Linked DNA regions of Homo sapiens: regions 2, 3, 4, 5 and 6 are each linked to region 1. Evidence: promoter capture Hi-C in 16 types of primary human blood cells and fetal thymus (Javierre and others, 2016). All regions are on one chromosome and are shown on one strand. Each heading gives the region's core, a stretch centred on a gene start or on the middle of the fragment in contact. The rest is flanking DNA. Distances are from core to core; before and after follow the strand shown.

Region 1 (2,872 bases), core at 242-2,741:
GCGCAACCATGGCTCACTGCAGCCTCGACCTCCCAGGTTCAAGCCATCCTCCCACCTTGGTCTCCTGAGTAGCTGAGACCACAGGCATGCTCCACCCTGCCTGGCTACTTTTAAAATTGTTTGTAGAGTCAGGGTCTCACTATGTTGCCCAGGCCAGTCTTGAACTCCTGGGCTCAGGTGATCCTCCTGCTTTGGCCTCCTAAAGTGTTGGGATTGCAGACATAAGCCACCATGCCCAGCCAGGGAAATTATTTTCTTTCATGTTGCTTTTAACTTTAATGTTTTGAATAGATACTATCATGACACAGTTTAAAGATTTTTTAAAGTAAGACAGTATTCAGTGAAATGTCCTCTTCTAACCCCCACCCCAATGCCCTGGCCAGTCATGGGTTCTTTAAAAAAAAAAAAAAGTCAGCAATGGAAAGCATGGCCAGACCACAGGGTGAGGTTCTTTCTCTCAGAGCAGTGATTTTGCAGCATGGTGTGGGAATCTCATGGTCTTGCAGGTGGGCAAAGCCCACTTCTAGAATCCGGCTGTGGTCAGGTCACCACCTGCCTGCTCACTGTGTCTCCAGCCTCGCATTTGCATGTATTTGTTTCAGTATGTCTTTTGAGAGTCTTCTACGTATCAACCTTCCACAAAATTCTGAAAATTTCTGTGTGTGTATGTGTGTGTTTGCAATGGAAATAAAAAGCGTCCATGAATTTTATCTTTCCAAGTAGTCTGGAACACAACCCCACAAAACCTCACAGCCAAAGGTACCTGCCTGCTTGTTTTCCTAGAGAGAAGCCTTCCCGCCACACCCACACTCAGGTTTGCACCTGAACCATGGAAACCTCGCCGAGAAAGGCCTGGGGTGATTTAGCCCGGTGATTAGCTCTTGCAAACTAGCCCTTAAGTCGGGAACCTGGGACCAGGACAAACAGCACACTGTCTGTTACCATTATTTAGGCAAATTCTTCCAGGAAGCAAACTCATTTTTTTTAAAGAGAAAAAGTACAGAAAAAAATTGATTTAAGAAGACTGAGTTCATGAACAATTTGAATATGAACTACTTGACAATAATGCCATTTAATTATTGTTAAGAACACACAACTACCCAAAAGCATTACTGATAAAATATAATTCCAAATACCACATTCCTCGGCCAAGACAGCACCTAAGAACACCATGAGGAGCAGCATCTGGGGCCACGCTGGGTGCCTGCCCTGCCCAACTGGGCTTAACGCACATGCTCCCGGGACAAATGGAATTCTGGCACCCAATGCACGGACTCTGATGGAGGAGGTCCTACTCACCATTCTCCCGAGTTTGGGATCCATTAGGCTGGAGTTCTGAAGCCTCTAGCAACTTTCCCAACCTCCAAAAAATGTGGCAGAGGGAGTCCCATGAAAGCCCCAAGAGGGTGACATTAAATATCTCTCTGTGCCCTGACCCACGTTGTCCCCCGGAAGGAAGACGAGGCTGGTATAGTGGAGCTATTCACATCTGGAGAACAAAGCGGCTTCGGAGGTATTCATTCAGCTCAACTGCAGAGGAAGAGACAATGCATCTCATACGCGCAGATACGGGATGAGGCAGTGGCCCCAAAGTCATGTGATGTCACTGGAAGCCAGCAGCCTGGCCCAGCCTGCGACTCCTCGGGTTCTTCTTTGGGGGCACTTGTGTGTCATCTCTGAGAGGGAGTAGGGCCCCGGCCAGCAGGCAGAGCTGAGCCAGCGGCACAGCCCCCTCAGGTGACAGCCCCCTCACATGACAGGCCCCCACACACTGTGGCTGTGGGCCCTTGTGATGGAATGTTACGGCCGAGGATTAGCTTCCTAGGGCTGTGCAGGGGCCGAGGGTAGAGTTTTCCCAGCTCTCTGAAGGTTCGCTGCAAAATCAGCTTGCAAAGGGCAGTTGAATTGGAGAAGAGGCATAACAGATTGATTTGCTCCTAGTTTTAAGTGACATGGGAGCCTTCAGAAGGAAGGACCAATCCCTAATGGGGTTGGGAAGCTGAGACACCCTCTTGAGGTTCCACAAGGAGTGGCGGCTTAGATTCTCGCGCAACAGGTTATGGGAGGAGAAAAGAGGACTTCAGCTGAGGGCAATCAGCGCTCACGAGGGAGGATTCAGTGGGCTTGAAGAGCACGCCACGGTCTTCGTTCAAGTCTGCTGGGCCCCGGAGCAGACAATGGTCTTGACAAGTCTGTCCAGCGTGTTCGGTGTCAGCCTTCCTTCCTGAGATATGGGTTCAGTTAACGAAAACTCAGGGAAGGGACTAGAGGTCATTCCTTTCTTCTTTGGTGGGTCAGACTTGAAGGAGATAAGGACACTTCAGGAACTCTGGGAGAGATGGTGGGGGTGGGGGAGCCGAGAGGCCTTGAAGTTCCTTTTCAGTTCAGCTTGAACAAAGCACCATATTTTGGGGTATTGGCTTCTGAGCCCCAACATCTGCTCTAACAAAAGTACCCTACACTGGGTGGCTTAAGCAACAGAAATCGGTCTCAATTCTGGAGACTGGAAGTCTGAGATGAAGGTATGGGCAGGGCAGGTTTCTCCTGAGGCTGAGCGGGAAGGGCGTGCTCCAGGCCTTGACCCGCGTGGCTGCTGGCCGTCCTTGGTGTCCCTTGTCTTGTACAAGCATCACCCGATCTCTGCCCTCATCTTCTTATGATGTTCTCCCTGTGTATGTGTGTGTGTCCAGATTGTCCCTTCTCATAAGGACACAGTTGTGTGTAATCAGGGGTCCATCCTATGCCCATGTGACCTTATCTAAAGATAAGTAATTCAATCTGCAATGACCCTATCTCCATAGAAGGTCACATTCTGAGGTCTTGGGGGTTAGGATGTCAACATATAAATTTTGGTGGGAAGGTCAGGGGACAG
Region 2 (2,872 bases), core at 357-2,856, 380 kb after region 1:
CAGAAGTCCCCAGAGCAGCAGCTGAGGCCCCAACTGCAAATGCACTTCGGCCTCTCCCTCTGCCCAGTCCTGCTTCCCTCATCCCTCAAGACGTATTCTGAGAGCACTCCCTGATAAACCTTACGCAAATCCCACTTCCCTGGGAAGCCAACCTACAACGGGTGCTACCAGGAGTGGTAAGCAGCTCTCAATTTGGATTTTGGAGCTGGCTTGCCGGCCACTGGCTGGCAATGAGGACCCTGTCCCTGGTGGTAGGGGGGTACTGACAGCACCTGTCATAGAGCTGTAGTGCAGCTGATGCAGCTCTCACCAATGGGGACCTGGGATGGAATGCTGGCGGAAGGGAATGTACTGGCTGATGTGTTATTCTGGGAGTTTAGGAGGAATCAGCAATTTTAAGGACTTATATCAGACGGCTGTGGCTGGGGCCATGGAGAGGGATGGTGAGATGAAGTGTGTAACTAATCACCAGTGAAGGTGAGTGCCAAGGGCAGGAGCCTCCTCCCCGGCAGAACAAGACTCAAATTGCACCCAGAGGATAGAAAATGCGTGGGTGAGGTCTGGGGCGGAAGGGATTCAGGGAGTTTGGCATTTCAAGCCCATGAGACCTCCCACACCAAGGTCAGGGTCCTGATTTGGGAGGAAAGGCAACCTAAAGCTGGGTAGGGGGCCCTTGAGGTCAATGTTGTAAAAAATCTTGAATCCCAATTCTCCTGACCCCTCTAGCCCTGAAGCAGCAGCTCAGTGTCTGGTAAAGGTTGGCACTTCCTCCACCTTGGAAACTGGGCGAGGGGTGGGTGGGGGTTTCTGCCTAGCAAGATACGTGCTGCTCTCAGGAGGGCTCTCCACCTCCCCTCCTGGCCAAGTTACAACACGACTGGGCATGAGAAGGGTGAGAAGAACAATACTCGGAAGGAGCTGGAGGTCCCCCCGGGGGGGGGGGGAACATAGACACCACTGCTTCTTAAGGGTGGTGTGTCAAGGGCACAGAACACAAAACCAGCTGAGAGTTGATCAGCATGGGGCACGCTCCTGTGATGAATTTAGCAACCAGGCAAGCACCCTGGGAACTGATATGCAGCTGGCTAGGTCTGCTCCTGGAAACTTCGAGACAGTGATGGTCCACATTAAGTAAAAGTGACAGAACAGCCATGGCAAACTGGACGAAAGGCTCAACAGCCTCCAAGAATGGGGATGCTACCATAGATATAAGATATAAAGCCCGAAAACCCACCAGCTGACTATGTTCTTAGGAGGGACAGGAGGACACTGTGTACCAAAGCCACAAGGAAGCCACAGTTACATCTTTATAGAGCAGGATGCCCTGACAGAAATGGAGATGAAAGAATTATGAAGCAGAGACCAGGCTGGGGTGTTAAACAGAAGCCAAGGTGGGTGCAACCATCATAACTAATGGCAAGGCTGGAGTGGCAGTCGGGAGTGTCTGACCTACAGAAAGCAACAGAGTTGATGACTAGAACACAGTGTTTCCAAAGGGAAGACACAAGGGCAGCGGACAAGGCTACTTCTGAATTACACAGTCATGAGAAATTAACTACAGATGATTCCTGAGGCTGAAGGCAGCTGCTCTAATGCAAAGTCCTGAACATTGCCCCAGTTTCTGGACCTGAACCAGTTTTCAGACCTGGAACGCATTTACTGAAGGAAAGCGTATGTAACTGACTCCCCCCGTCCTTCACCAAAAGGACCTACAGTTATCAACTTGGACATAGTCTGTGCTGACAGTGATACCCAAGGACCCAAAGAGTCATGATGACCCCCTGACCGCCCTCCATCACCGGATGTAAGAAGCTCACAGGTGGGTCCAGGGACTTACCTGGCAATAATTTCTGTGATTTCCAAATGTATAAATCAAGGGGATGTACTGAGTAACTGGCAACAATAACTCCCACTTTAGTTCCTTTGGAAGTGGGTTAAGAGCCATCGCAGTGGGAAAAGTCAAATGGAAGCCCCTGAAGCTGCCCTTTCGGTGACCAAGATAGGAAATTAAAAATGATATCACATCTATGGGGAATGGCAGAGTATTCTTAGAGACCTTAGATACAGGCATGGCGATCCCCATCACGGTCCCTTGTAATTTACCAGTCTTCCTTTACAAAACACAAATAGGTGCTGGAGAATGACAGTGGTTAACTGCAAACTCAACCAAGTGGCAGCCGGGGTACACATGTAATACCACAAATGGTAACTTTACAGGGGAATGCATTAACACAATCTCATGGTATTGGCCATTGCTTTGAAGAACGCCTTCTATTCAGAAGCAGCAGCAGTAGTCTGTAGTAACATGAAACAGATAATAACAGTGTATGTTTATGATCCTGCCCAGGATTTGCTAATTCTCTCACCCTCTATCATAACAGTCTTAAGGGACTGAAACCTTCTGGACCTGGGCTGTCTAATACAGTAGCCACTTGCCACTCATGGCTATTTCAGTTCAATTTTAAATTAATTAAAATTAAATCAATTCAGTTCTTCAGTCACAAGTTTTAGCAACATTTCAAGTGCTCAAAATAGCTACAAGTGGCCAGGAACTACCCAAATGGACAGCACAGATATAGGACATTTCTATGCAGAAAGTTTTATTTGAATAATGCTGTTCTGGACATTCAGGAGAATATCACATTTGTCTACTATATTTATGCCATCATGTTAGAGCCCATAAGTAACAAGTGGCAAGTGTGTTAGAAGGCTTGGTCAGAGAAGCTGCAAGTGTGAGAGGTGGGTCCAACAAAGATGCAGAGGCTCATCAACACATGAGCCGACCTCGTGGGGCTACACTGGGGCGTGCCAAGACATGCCCTCCCAAGTAAAAGACAATTGTACCCTATACCTCCTACCACAATGCTTCATA
Region 3 (2,872 bases), core at 268-2,767, 370 kb after region 1:
TTTGGCATTTTTGTTTTGTCATATTATAAAGTAAGTGGTCTTAGAAGGTGATTGTTCCATAACCATTTTTTTTTTTTTGCTGCCTTATTCCATACCCTGAAGAGCAGCATATGTGTTTCTCCTGCCAGCCCTGCTCCTCATGGTGATTCAGCCTTCTAGAGGCATTAGATTTATGTTGCTTATGCAAGACCACTTTTGTATGCAACGGGACACATCCGTAATTTTTGCAGCCTCCTATCTCTCATGGCTGGCACTCCAGGAATTTGGTAGCTTTCTCAGTCACTTTTTGAATAATGCATTGCTTGGGTATTAGAACTATAGGTACTTATAAGGTTTAGATTTAACACATTTTTTTTTTTCTGAGAACTTATTAACATCCAAATACTGTAGTAACTGGAGATACAGGAATTAAAATGATGCCTTCTCTATGTACAATGTAAAAGGAAGGCAAGAAACATACCGACAGTTGCGGGGTAACCATGTGCCAGCTACTGCTGAAGCCCCTTCCCTATGGCCTCATATGGTCCTTACAAAATCCCTAAGAAGTAGGTATTATTGTCCTCATTTAAGAGATGGGGAAACTGAAATGTAGGCAGGTAAAAAAACAAAAAAAACATGAAAGGCAACATTAGGTGATGTGTAAACACTCAGGATTTGAAAATCAGACATCCCTGGTTCCAGGCGTGTATGGTAAGATGACCTCGGGCCACACACTGCTGTAGCAGATGCTTTTGGTGGCCTCCTGAGGGGTGGTCTCCCACAAGGTGGGTTCACATTTCAATCTGGGAACCTGCGGATATTATCTTCTATGGTAAAATATGTGCTTAAGTTAAGGATTTTGAGAGGATGCATTAGTCCTGGGTTATAGGGGTGGGCCCTAAATTCAAGGGCATGTATTTTTGTAAGACAGACACAGAAGAGAAGACAAGTGCAGAGGAGATTATGATGTAAAGATGGAGGCAGAGACGGGGGTGATGTGGCCACAAGCCTCGGAATGCCGATAATTTTTAGAAAATTTGATTATCATTCCTATAGACATATTACTTCCCCAATTTTTTAATAAATTAAATAGAGAGACCATAGAAAATCCCGAAAGGGCTTCCCATGGATGTTGATGAAAATAATGCTAAATATTATGTTAAAGTAAAGAGCTAACATTAGCTAGAGTATTTCTGAATAAGAAGAGTAGGGAGAGTGACTTTCTCTTACTAGGTATCAGCATCTACTATGAAGCTATGTAGTAAATAGATAAGTGCAGTATTGGTATTAGCAAAAATTAACCAATAGAATGAAAGAGAGCCAAAAAATAGACCTGTACACATATGGGATTTCGGTGTATGACAGACGTAGATGTCAGTTCAGTAAATGGAGCTGGAATGCATGGTCATCCATACGGAAAACATAAAGTTGGATCACTACTTCATACTCTTAAAATAAAAATAATCAACTCCAGATGAATTAATGACTTAATATCAAAAACAAAACTTAAAATGGTTAATAGACAATGGAGATGAATATCCTTTCAATCTTGGTTTAGACTCCTTACACAAAAACTTGAGAAAGAGTACCTACATAAGACACAGTACCTTTTTACTTTAAAAGAAAAGATACACTTGATCTTGACTTTATTATCGTTAAAAACATTTGATCATCCAAAGATATCATATATAAAGCAAAATAGCAAGTTTAAAACTTGGAGATAGTCTTTTATGCACACAACCAATGGAATATTACTATCAAATATATAAAAACCTTCTTACAAATTAATAAGAAAATAGAGGCCAGGCATGGTGGCTCATGCCTGTAATTCCAACACTTTGGGAGGCCAAGGCAGGTGGATCACTTGAGGTCAGGAGTTTGAGACCAGCCTGGCTAATATGGTGAAACCCTGTCTCTACTAAAAATACAAAAATTATCAGGGAGTGGTAGTGGGCACCTGTAATCCCAGCTACTTGGGAGGCAGAGGCAGGAGAATCGTTTGAGCCTGGGAGGAGGAGGTTGTAGTGAGCCCAGATCATGCCACTGCACCTCCAGCCTGGGCAACAGAGTGAGACTTGGTCTCAAAAAAACAAAAACAAACAAATAAACAAACACAAAGAAAACAGAAAAATACCAATAAAAGCACATGCAAAAGACATGAACAGGCATTTGTCCAGAAGAAGGAACACGTAAACCACATAAAAATGTTCATTAATGATTAGTGAATGGGAGTCAAGACCACCAAGAGACCCCTTTTACACCATGTGGCTGGCAAATATGAACAAGACTGACAGTCACAGGGTAGGGCAGGATGCGACGCCACAGGGTTTCTTACAATGCACGGCTGGAAGTCACGCTGCTACAATCACTTACAACTTCTTAAAGTTAGCTGCCATAACAGAATACCACTGGCTTGGGGGATTAAACAACAGACGTTTATTTTCCCACAGTCCTGGAGGCTGAAAGTCCAAGATCAAGGTGTCAGCAGGGTGGGTTTCTCCTGAGATCTCTCCTCGGCTTGCAGATGTCCACCTTCTTGCAGTGTCCTCACATGCTACTTCCTCTGTGCAAATGCCTCCCTGGTGTCTCTGTGTGCCCAGATTTCCTTTCATTATAAGGACAAATCAAATTGGATGAGGGCCCTCCACCCTCATTATAACTTAATCACCCCTTTAAAAGCCCTATCCTCAAATTCAGCTACATTCAGAGGTGCTGGGGTTGGGAGGTTTCATCACAGGGGTTTTGGAGGCCAGAGGGAGACATAGTTCAGTCTGTAACAGGAGGCATCAGCCTCTGCTACCCTTAGCTTTCCCCTCTCTTCTTTCCATGGTTCTGTCCTTGTTTCTTCCTTCTTCCTTTCTGGCCTGTCCATCCATCCAGCTGTCTATTATCT
Region 4 (2,872 bases), core at 152-2,651, 350 kb after region 1:
TGACATCACCTGTTTTAAAAAATATTGTGAGATGATGCATAAAAAGCAAGTCAGCATAACAGCTGACCCGTATTAAATGTTCAACATATGTTGGTTATTGCTGTAGAATCAGTTACAATCACCATTCTAGTAGAATGGTAGAATCAGTGGAATCACCATTTGGCTGCCTGGAAGAATCTTAGGGGATTTTAGAAGTATTTAATCAGAACCCAGACATCAATCTGCTGTGGAAACACAGTCTTGCCCAAGCCTCACTCAAAGTTTCCAAACTTTTTCATATTTCCTGCCATTTCAGTTTCCCTCTCAGTCCCAGGATGAGCTCATGATCCTTCCAGTATTTCAAAGCAGCCCTAGTGATATAGGAGTTAAAAAGAAATGATTTAGGCAGGTAGTGAGTGTAGACGTGTCCTTGGTAAGGTTTTCTTTTTAATGAAAAGCAGCCCCCAAATCATTTCTTTTCTACCAAAGAGCAGCCTCTAAAATCGAGCTGCAGACATAGATAAGCAAGCTGGAATCCTGCCCAGGTGAATGCCGGCAGCTATGCCAATAGGAAAAGTCTACCTGGGGGGCAGGTATATTCAACACGAAGGCTCTATCTTCCCTTTTCTTTGTCAACCACGTGTACAATAAGGAACAGACAACATGGTGCCAGCCAGATAGAGAACACATCTGCATAATAAAAATTAAGGTGGGGTGGCCAGCTTCTTTGCACACTACATAAATAGCACACCTGGTCCAACCAATTTTTGGGCCCTTTGTAAATCAGACACCGCCTCTTCAAGACAGTCTATCAGCCTATAAAACCCCCGTGCACTTTGCTGCAGACCAGAAGTCCCACTTAGGAGCCCCTCTCTCTCTGCAAGAGACAGAGCTCTTCTCTTTTCTTTCTTTCACCTATTAAACCTCTGCTCTTTAAACTCACTTTTTGTGTGTCCACATCCTTGATTCCCTTGGTGTGAGACAATGAACTTCTGGTATTTACCCCAGACAATGACGCTGCTTCACTAGGTGCCCGAGGCCAAACCTCACACATTCCAGATTACCTACATTTACTGTCCCACACAGGAAGGCATGCATTTTTCACCTTTCCCACCCCACCCAGGTTCTCATGGGCCTGAAAGGGACCGTAAGCTACAGCCCCACTTTGAGGCCCTTGGAGAGTTTTCCAATGCATTTGGCAAAGGTGAGATGGCAGCTGCTCACTGTACCACCTGGGATACCAGTCAAACCTGCATTTTCCACCTTTTGTGTTATTGGAACTTTAAAAATTAATACCTCTGTATGATTAATGCCTCTGTATGATTGTGAATATTGTTCTAGAATATATAAATTATAATTAAATGTAGTTAAGGGTCTTGCTTTTGGAAAGAAACTGAGATGAATCTTTGGTGAATAGAGGAATCCACCTGTGTTGCAAATCTTTTCTCCCTAACTGGCACATTTGTATTTTCTACCTAATTGGCACATTTGTATTTCTTTAGAGAAGAACAGTGAATAAAAGAGGTAAACAAAGGAAAGTAAATTGCCCTTTTCAAGTCTGCCAGCTGTAACACCCAGAAGAGCGTTTTCTTCTTATTCTTCTAAGAATCAAGGCTCATAGGTATGTGCTAAAGAGTAATGAGGCAAGTTAAGAAGGTCTTCCGAAATACTGCTGGGGAAATTTAGCCCATTGTTACCAAAGACTTACAAAAACTTAAAGCCGTTTCCCTTCATTAAAAAACATGAGCAGTGAAACCTACTACATTGGCTTTCTGGAAACCAAAGAAAAGGACCTTGCTAAATTACTGTTAAGACAAACAATACCTTGTAGACTGACCTTATTAAGTCAGATGGCAGCTTTAGGGGTGAGCCTGGAACCTTTCTTTAAGTGGTGGTGGGCACAGTAATAATGTAGGGAAATGGAAAGGTCCTAGCCCCCCAAAACCTCCCTACCCACTGGCTTGTGCCTTCTAGATCACATTCTAAGCTCGTGTACTTTGTTTGAAGATCTGAATTTCCCAAATACATACACTATGGGCTTCTTAAATGGAACTCTCAATAAACTGTGACAGAAAGATGGTTAATGAGTAAGGTGGAACTTATTAAAGAGAAAGAGGCATAATTACAGTTTGAAGACAGGTTTAAAAATTAAAGCAGATAGGTTGTAGTGGAAATAAAATAGAAATTTCAAACATTTTAATTAAATTGTTTAAATTAAATTACTTCATTTCCATTTTAATTAACTTTAATTAACATAATGTGACATTATGAGCTTTAAAAAAAATGTTTTTCCCGATTTCCTTGGGAAATGTGGCCTAAGGAGAATGGATGGCACTGCCTCTCCGGGTCCTGTGTGCTCCCACTGCCTGAGTCATGATTCTCTCCAGCACCATTCTCCACCCCTCCAGACAGTGCTCTTGGAGGGAATGCATCCCATATATCGGGCCTCTCAATGATATCACGACAAAGGAACTGGCATAAAGAAACTTCTGATGGTCTCATTGCAGTAACGAGCTTAAAAAGAAAATGACAACCTTAGTTCAGGTAAGGTCAGTATTTGCAGACCTGTGGATTTGTAAGGATGCTCTGGAAAGAAAAGCTAATCTCAAATGTGCCAAAAAGGAATGTGAATGTATTAGGGCATGCCTAATTTTTATTGGTGTTAATAAGTAGAGGAATGTTAGTACACACATGTGTGGGGTTTATTCTTTTAAGTTCATGTCTATTATGAAGCACAGATATGCTCTTGTTTCCTCTGTGTAACATGAGACCAGGGAGTAGAAGGGATTGAATTGCCCAGTGAAAGGAGGATCTGTGTGTAGAACAGGAAGTGCTGCTGGGCAGGTGGAGTGGAGAAGAGGGGACAGGTGGGGAAGAGGTGGGGAGAGAAGGG
Region 5 (2,872 bases), core at 186-2,685, 330 kb after region 1:
ATGCACGTGGCCTTGGTGAGACTGCTGGGCTTCCCCTGCATCCCACCTCCCAGCCCATAGCTGGCAGGTCCGGGATGGCCTCTCCTGGGACTTTCTGAAGCAGAGCCAAAGAGGAGCCCATCCCTGACACGCAGGCTGTGAGGCCACTGTGCAGCCTTGTTCCTGGCCCACCAAGGAAGCCAGCTGCACCGCGTGGAGGGAGCTGACGTGCAGAGAGGAGATCCTCGTGGGGTCAAGGCCTGACCCAGCTATCCTTGAAGGCAGCTGCATCTCTGGCCTTCTTATATCTGGCTGAACAATCCCCACCCATTTTTTTTTTTTTTTTGATTCCAGAGGTTGTTAAATTTCCTTTATGCCTAAACTTGCTTGAGTTGTGTTTCTGACACTAGATGCTAAAAAAGTCTGACAGCCGCATAGCCTTGGGTTCTGGAAGGCAAGCCACAGAAACCTGTCCATGTGGCTACTGTGTGTTACAGCCTTTAAGGCCTTCCCCCAGCTCCCCTGAAGCTGGAGTCCCGGGGCAAGGGCACCCACCAATTATGGGTTGAAATGTGTCCCTTAAAATTTCATATGTTGAAGTCCTAACCCCCAGTACCTCAGAATGTGACCTTATTTGGAGATAGGGTCTTTATAGAGGCAATCAAATTCCAATGTGGTCATTAGGGTGGGCCCTAAGCCAGTATGACTGTGTCCTTTTCAAAAGGGGAAATGTGGATGCGGAGACAGACATGCATGCAGGGAGAAGGCCCTGTGAAGATGGAGGCAGAAGTCGAGGTGATGCTTCTGCACACCAACGAGCACCAAAGGTTGCCAGCAGCTGCCAGAAGCAGGGAGAGAGGCCAAGAACAGCTTCTCTCTCCGTGCCCTCGGAAGGAACCAGCCCCTGGGCACCTTCATCTCGGAATTCCAGCTTCCACAGCTGTATCTAAGTCTTCCTGGGTGTGGTTCCTTGTTATGGCAGCCCTGGGGAAGAACATGGTGCCATCCCCGTCACGTGGGCACTGAGAGCACCATCATGGCCAGGGAGGCCAGCCCTTCCTTCTGTGGCCATGGGAAGACCGTACTCTGTGGGCCGTGCTGTGACTGGGCTGGTGACCCTCGTGGGCCGTGGCTGTGACTGGGCTGGTGACCCCCAGGCTCCACACATGTGCACATCAGCTTCCTCTAGAGCCATCTTCCATGATCTGATTCAAACGCTGGACTTCTCTTCTACTAGACCAGAGCCTCGAGGCCAACTAATCTTCAACGAAACTGAAAAAATGATTTCCAGCAACTGAGCTACTCTCACAAGTATAGAGGATTGAGTAGGATTGGGCATCAAGCATAAATATGGATTTGAGATGTCCTTTTGGAATAGCACAACTCATATGGTATCACTGCCTCAGGGGCTGGTCTCTTGGGATTCCTGGATCCCCACATTTTGGACTCATTGCGCTACTGAAGTGAGAGGATGGAGAGGACTTGGAGATCACCTGTGTCCCTCATCTTACCAATCACTGGGGTCCTGGGCTCTGACTGGCCTGAGGTCCTTCTGCCATCACAGAGCAAAACAATTCACTTGGCAGCTTCTGCTCCTCCCATGTCCCAAGGACCCCCTGCCCAGGGTTGGGGCCCATTGAGGCATCCAGTCACCAGCTCAGACTGAGACCCTTTCCTGTAAGGCTTCATGCAGATACCCCTCATATCTGTGGGGTCAAACCCCTCAGCTCCAAATCTCTGAGCCTCTGAATGCATAATCTGGTTGTGCGTTTTGGTTAGATTGATCAAAGCACAGCAGGACTCACCTTTAAGTTCTCAGGTGACAGCAGCATTATCAAAGCCCTTCTTGGGTTTATTTCTATTTCTAGTTCCTAGGGAAGAGAAAAAAAAAAAGGGGATGATATATAACACTGAACAAGCATTTACTTACGTAATCTCATTTAATCCTCACAGCCAGCCCACTGTATTAGTTGCCCAGAGATGCTGTAACCAAGTACCATAGACTAGGTGGTGTAGTAACAGAAATTTACTCTCCCACAGCTCTGGAGGCCAGAAGTCCAAAATCAAGGTGTCCTCAGGGCCATTCTCCCTCTGAAGACTCTAGGGGAGGGTCCATCCTGCTTCCTCCAGCCTCTGGAGAGGTGGTTGTTGGCAATCCTCTCTGTTCCTTGATATGTGGGTACATTACTCCAATCGCTGCCTCTGTCCTCGCCTGGCCTCTGCATGTGTATCTCTCTGTGTCCCACCTCTTCCCATAAGAACACCCGGCACTGGACTTAGGGCCCATCCAAATCCAGTATGATCTATCTTCATTCACACATTAATGATATCTGCAATGATTGTATTTCCACATAAGGTCACATTTACATATCTTTTTGGGGGGATGCAGCAAACTTCCAACACTTACCTTGATTTTATAGATGACCAGGTCAATATTTAGAGCAGCTAAGTCATCTTTCAGGTTTTAGTTTGTGTTGGGGATGCAAAATTTCTCCTCAGCCCTTTTAGAGTTGCTAGATGAGCCCAGTGAATCCACTGACAGAGACAGCTTCAGAGGAGAAAAGTAGGCAGATTTTATTAAGTAATTTTTGTATAGACATGGGAGCCCTCACAAGAAAAACGAAGACCCAAAGAAGGAGTTGGGGCCACGAACTTATGCACTAGGTTGAACAAAGTGTCATAAATTGTGGAAACATGACAAGACAAAGGGGCTTGGGTAGGGCAGTCAGTTGGGGGCAAATGACCAGGAAGGTAAGTGTTGGCTTCACAAGGTTTGTTTGTAGAGCACCCTGGGCTTTGACTCTGATGACAAGGATCTCTTCCTTTCTCCTGGTGGAGGGGGGGCATCTTTCACACAGGGTTTCATCTCTTGCTTACAGGAAGAAAAAGGAAA
Region 6 (2,872 bases), core at 222-2,721, 280 kb after region 1:
ACCCAGGAGGCGGAGCTTGCAGTGAGCCAAGATCGTGCCACTGCACTCCAGCCTGAGCAACAGAGCAAGACTCTGTATCAAAAAAAAAAAAAAGATTCAAATAGAAATTATAGCTCATCCCTCCTTTGTCCCTGATTTGATTTGTAATCTGTAATTTATAGATCGAAATTCTATGCATCAGGACTGTAAATTTAGGCTTTTTTTTTTTTTTTTTTGGTGAATTTAGACCTGTGGACCACACACCAAGTAGTCTGGCCATTCTGTTTCTTAACCCTTTAAATCCACTTCAGCACAGGTAGTAAAGATTAGATTTTCCAAACCTAAGCTTAAAGCTGTGGTGTTAATGGCAGTGTTAATCATCACAGGGCCCATACTCTTCAACTTTACAGCTGGTGGGGCATTCATTTTTTGGTTTGTTTATTTTTGTTAGTTTGTTTTTGAGACAGTCTCGCTCTATCACACAGGCTGGAGTGCAGTGGCGTGATCTCGGCTCACTGCAACCTCTGCCTCCCAGGTTCAAGCGATTCTCCTGCCCCAGCCTCCCAAGTAGCTGGGATTACAATTAGCTACTGCCACCACGCCCAGCTACTTTTTGTATTTTTTGGTAGAAGGTTTTTACTATGTTGGCCAGGCTGGTCTCAAACTTCTGACCTCAAGTGATCCGTCTGCCTTGGCCTCCCAAAGTGCTGGGATTACAGGCGTGAGCCACTGAGCCCAGCCAAGTGGGGCATGAGTTTTCTCATAAAGCCAGCAGGGCAGAGTGATTCCTAGTATAGCAGGGCATGTGTTACACTCATGTCACTTTTAGCAAATCCACGTTGCCTTTTCAGCAAAATTCATTACAGAGTTAAGAAAAACATGCCCTGGTAATTTTCTGTTAGAAGGAGCAAAGATTTTGAGTCCACCACAGTGCACATCATGTCAGCATCATTGCTTTTTGTGTCTTTCTAGTTGGTGGACCAACTGGGTGATCCCTGCCATCTCTGCAGTGGCCGTCGCCTTGATGTATCGCCTATACATGGCAGAGGACTGAACACCTCCTCAGAAGTCAGCGCAGGAAGAGCCTGCTTTGGACACGGGAGAAAAGAAGCCATTGCTAACTACTTCAACTGACAGAAACCTTCACTTGAAAACAATGATTTTAATATATCTCTTTCTTTTTCTTCCGACATTAGAAACAAAACAAAAAGAACTGTCCTTTCTGCGCTCAAATTTTTCGAGTGTGCCTTTTTATTCATCTACTTTATTTTGATGTTTCCTTAATGTGTAATTTACTTATTATAAGCATGATCTTTTAAAAATATATTTGGCTTTTAAAGTATGCACCGTGTTTGCCTGTTTGGTGTATAATTGTCTTTAATGTTTAGAATCTGGTTATTTAGAGGATTCCTTCAATGTGTTACTCATCCAGACCCACAGAGGCCATATGACTGGAGGTGCGGGAAATAGGTTTGAGTGTCTCCTTTCACATCGTCACATCTCATTGAGTAACCATGTATTGTATGCTTCCGATATAGTTTCTTTTTTTCAAGGAAATTAAGAAAGGCCAGAAATTATAGTTTAAGGATTTCTAATAATTGTCCTACTTGAAATAGATCTTAAAAAGAAAGTAGCGGCTGGGCATCGTGGCTCACACCTGTAAGCCCAGCACTTTGGGAGGCTGAGGTGGGTGGATCACTTGAGGTCAGGAGTTCAAGACCAGCCTGACCAACATGGTGAAACCCTGTCTCTACTAAAAATACAAAATTAGCAGGGCGTAGTGGCGCATGCCTGTAATCCCGGCTACTTGGGAGGCTGAGGCAGGAGAATTGCTTGAACCCAGGAGGCAGAGGTTGTAGTGAGCTGAGATCGCGCCGTTGAACTCCAGCTGGGCAACAAGAGTGAAACTCTGTCTCAAAAAAAAAAGAAAGTAGCCTACAGGGCCTATAAGAGAGACTTCTTATCTTCACTGATTGAAAAACATCAGCAACTTAAAAACACATGAACCATGAGAGGGCATCGCAACTGTCCATTCTCTCAGCTTACACGTATCATTGCAAAGGCACTCACAGCTTCATAGGTTCTAAAGTTTTAAGAATTCCTCATTCAGAGAGTAGAATTGTTTGTAAACTCTTCTAAGGAAAGGCTGGTTTTCTAATTTGTAAGGAGATTGTGGGACATTGGAATCTGATCTTTGAAGAAATTTAGCGGCTAGTGTCAAGCTCTGAAGAGTTCTGGTGTGGCTCTGTCTCCTCCTGGGGGCTCTAAGGGGCTGATTCAGTCATCTTACTTCCCATTTATTATTCTCTGCCTTATGTGTTATTCTTTTAAATGTGGAAACTTGAAAGCTGAATTTGTTAGAACCCAGTACATGTGTCATTGGCTGTGACTGCATTTGCACTGGCATGAGCTGACAAACCACGAGGTTCTTCAGAAGTGACCGCGTGCAGTGGAAAGGAATTGTGTTGTTCTTACAGAGTACAACCTTTATAATCAAATAGGATGCACCGCCTTTGCCTTCTTTAGTCACTGAAAGTTGACAAGTAGTTTCTATTTCAAAATAAATTACAACACTTGTTAAGGGACCTATGTAAATATTTCAATATTTTTGGTTGTGATTTTTAGCTATAAAGCTTCACATTTTAGTAGTTTTTAAAACATTGCTCCTAAATCAACTATGAAGTGAATCGAAGTGGGTCAGTCGTACCTTAGATGACATTAAAGGGTTAACTTGTAAATCATTTTTAAGATGTTGAGTAATAGCATCTGTATATCGTTAAGAAACATAACAGTTGAACTTTGACATTTTTATCAGTGACTCAGCAATTTGCTGCTGTGGCTGGCAATGTTTCTTCATGTGTTTTGGGAACAACATGTGGAGTAAAGGAGAGTT

What was found. The method cuts DNA at HindIII sites, captures the fragments that hold promoters and counts their contacts. A CHiCAGO score of 5 or more calls a contact.
Region 2: a contact is called between a fragment that was not itself captured here and the fragment with the promoter of CNDP1 in region 1, in 1 of 17 cell types (neutrophils). The highest score is 5.3, in neutrophils.
Region 3: a fragment that was not itself captured here is called in contact with the fragment with the promoter of CNDP1 in region 1 in 7 of 17 cell types (neutrophils, total CD4 T cells, naive CD8 T cells and 4 more); the score reaches 7.8 in neutrophils.
Region 4: a contact is called between a fragment that was not itself captured here and the fragment with the promoter of CNDP1 in region 1, in 2 of 17 cell types (neutrophils and activated CD4 T cells). The highest score is 6.7, in neutrophils.
Region 5: a contact is called between a fragment that was not itself captured here and the fragment with the promoter of CNDP1 in region 1, in 6 of 17 cell types (neutrophils, naive CD8 T cells, naive CD4 T cells and 3 more). The highest score is 10.0, in neutrophils.
Region 6: a fragment that was not itself captured here is called in contact with the fragment with the promoter of CNDP1 in region 1 in 1 of 17 cell types (neutrophils); the score reaches 5.4 in neutrophils.

Annotation. Positions count from the first base shown.
Region 1 is chr18:74,533,119-74,535,990 of GRCh38, reverse strand. CNDP1 (carnosine dipeptidase 1) reads right to left here and starts at 1,491. Exons shown (of 12, transcript NM_032649.6): 1 at 1,300-1,491. The coding sequence starts at 1,323. The HindIII fragment of the contact is 13,353 bases long and covers 1-2,872 here.
Region 2 is chr18:74,150,010-74,152,881 of GRCh38, reverse strand. The region is part of intron 1 of TIMM21 (translocase of inner mitochondrial membrane 21); the gene reads right to left. Among named protein-coding and RNA genes, the nearest start is that of TIMM21, 2.9 kb to the right of the region's middle. RefSeq lists an enhancer at 1,166-2,365. The HindIII fragment of the contact is 5,042 bases long and covers 1-2,872 here.
Region 3 is chr18:74,166,925-74,169,796 of GRCh38, reverse strand. No RefSeq gene overlaps it. Among named protein-coding and RNA genes, the nearest start is that of TIMM21, 20 kb to the right of the region's middle. The HindIII fragment of the contact is 4,386 bases long and covers 1-2,872 here.
Region 4 is chr18:74,183,242-74,186,113 of GRCh38, reverse strand. No RefSeq gene overlaps it. Among named protein-coding and RNA genes, the nearest start is that of TIMM21, 36 kb to the right of the region's middle. The HindIII fragment of the contact is 4,062 bases long and covers 1-2,872 here.
Region 5 is chr18:74,201,325-74,204,196 of GRCh38, reverse strand. No RefSeq gene overlaps it. Among named protein-coding and RNA genes, the nearest start is that of TIMM21, 54 kb to the right of the region's middle. The HindIII fragment of the contact is 6,951 bases long and covers 1-2,872 here.
Region 6 is chr18:74,251,745-74,254,616 of GRCh38, reverse strand. CYB5A (cytochrome b5 type A) reads left to right here. Exons shown (of 5, transcript NM_148923.4): 5 at 952-2,872. The coding sequence ends at 1,033. Among named protein-coding and RNA genes, the nearest start is that of CYB5A, 39 kb to the left of the region's middle. The HindIII fragment of the contact is 2,287 bases long and covers 328-2,614 here.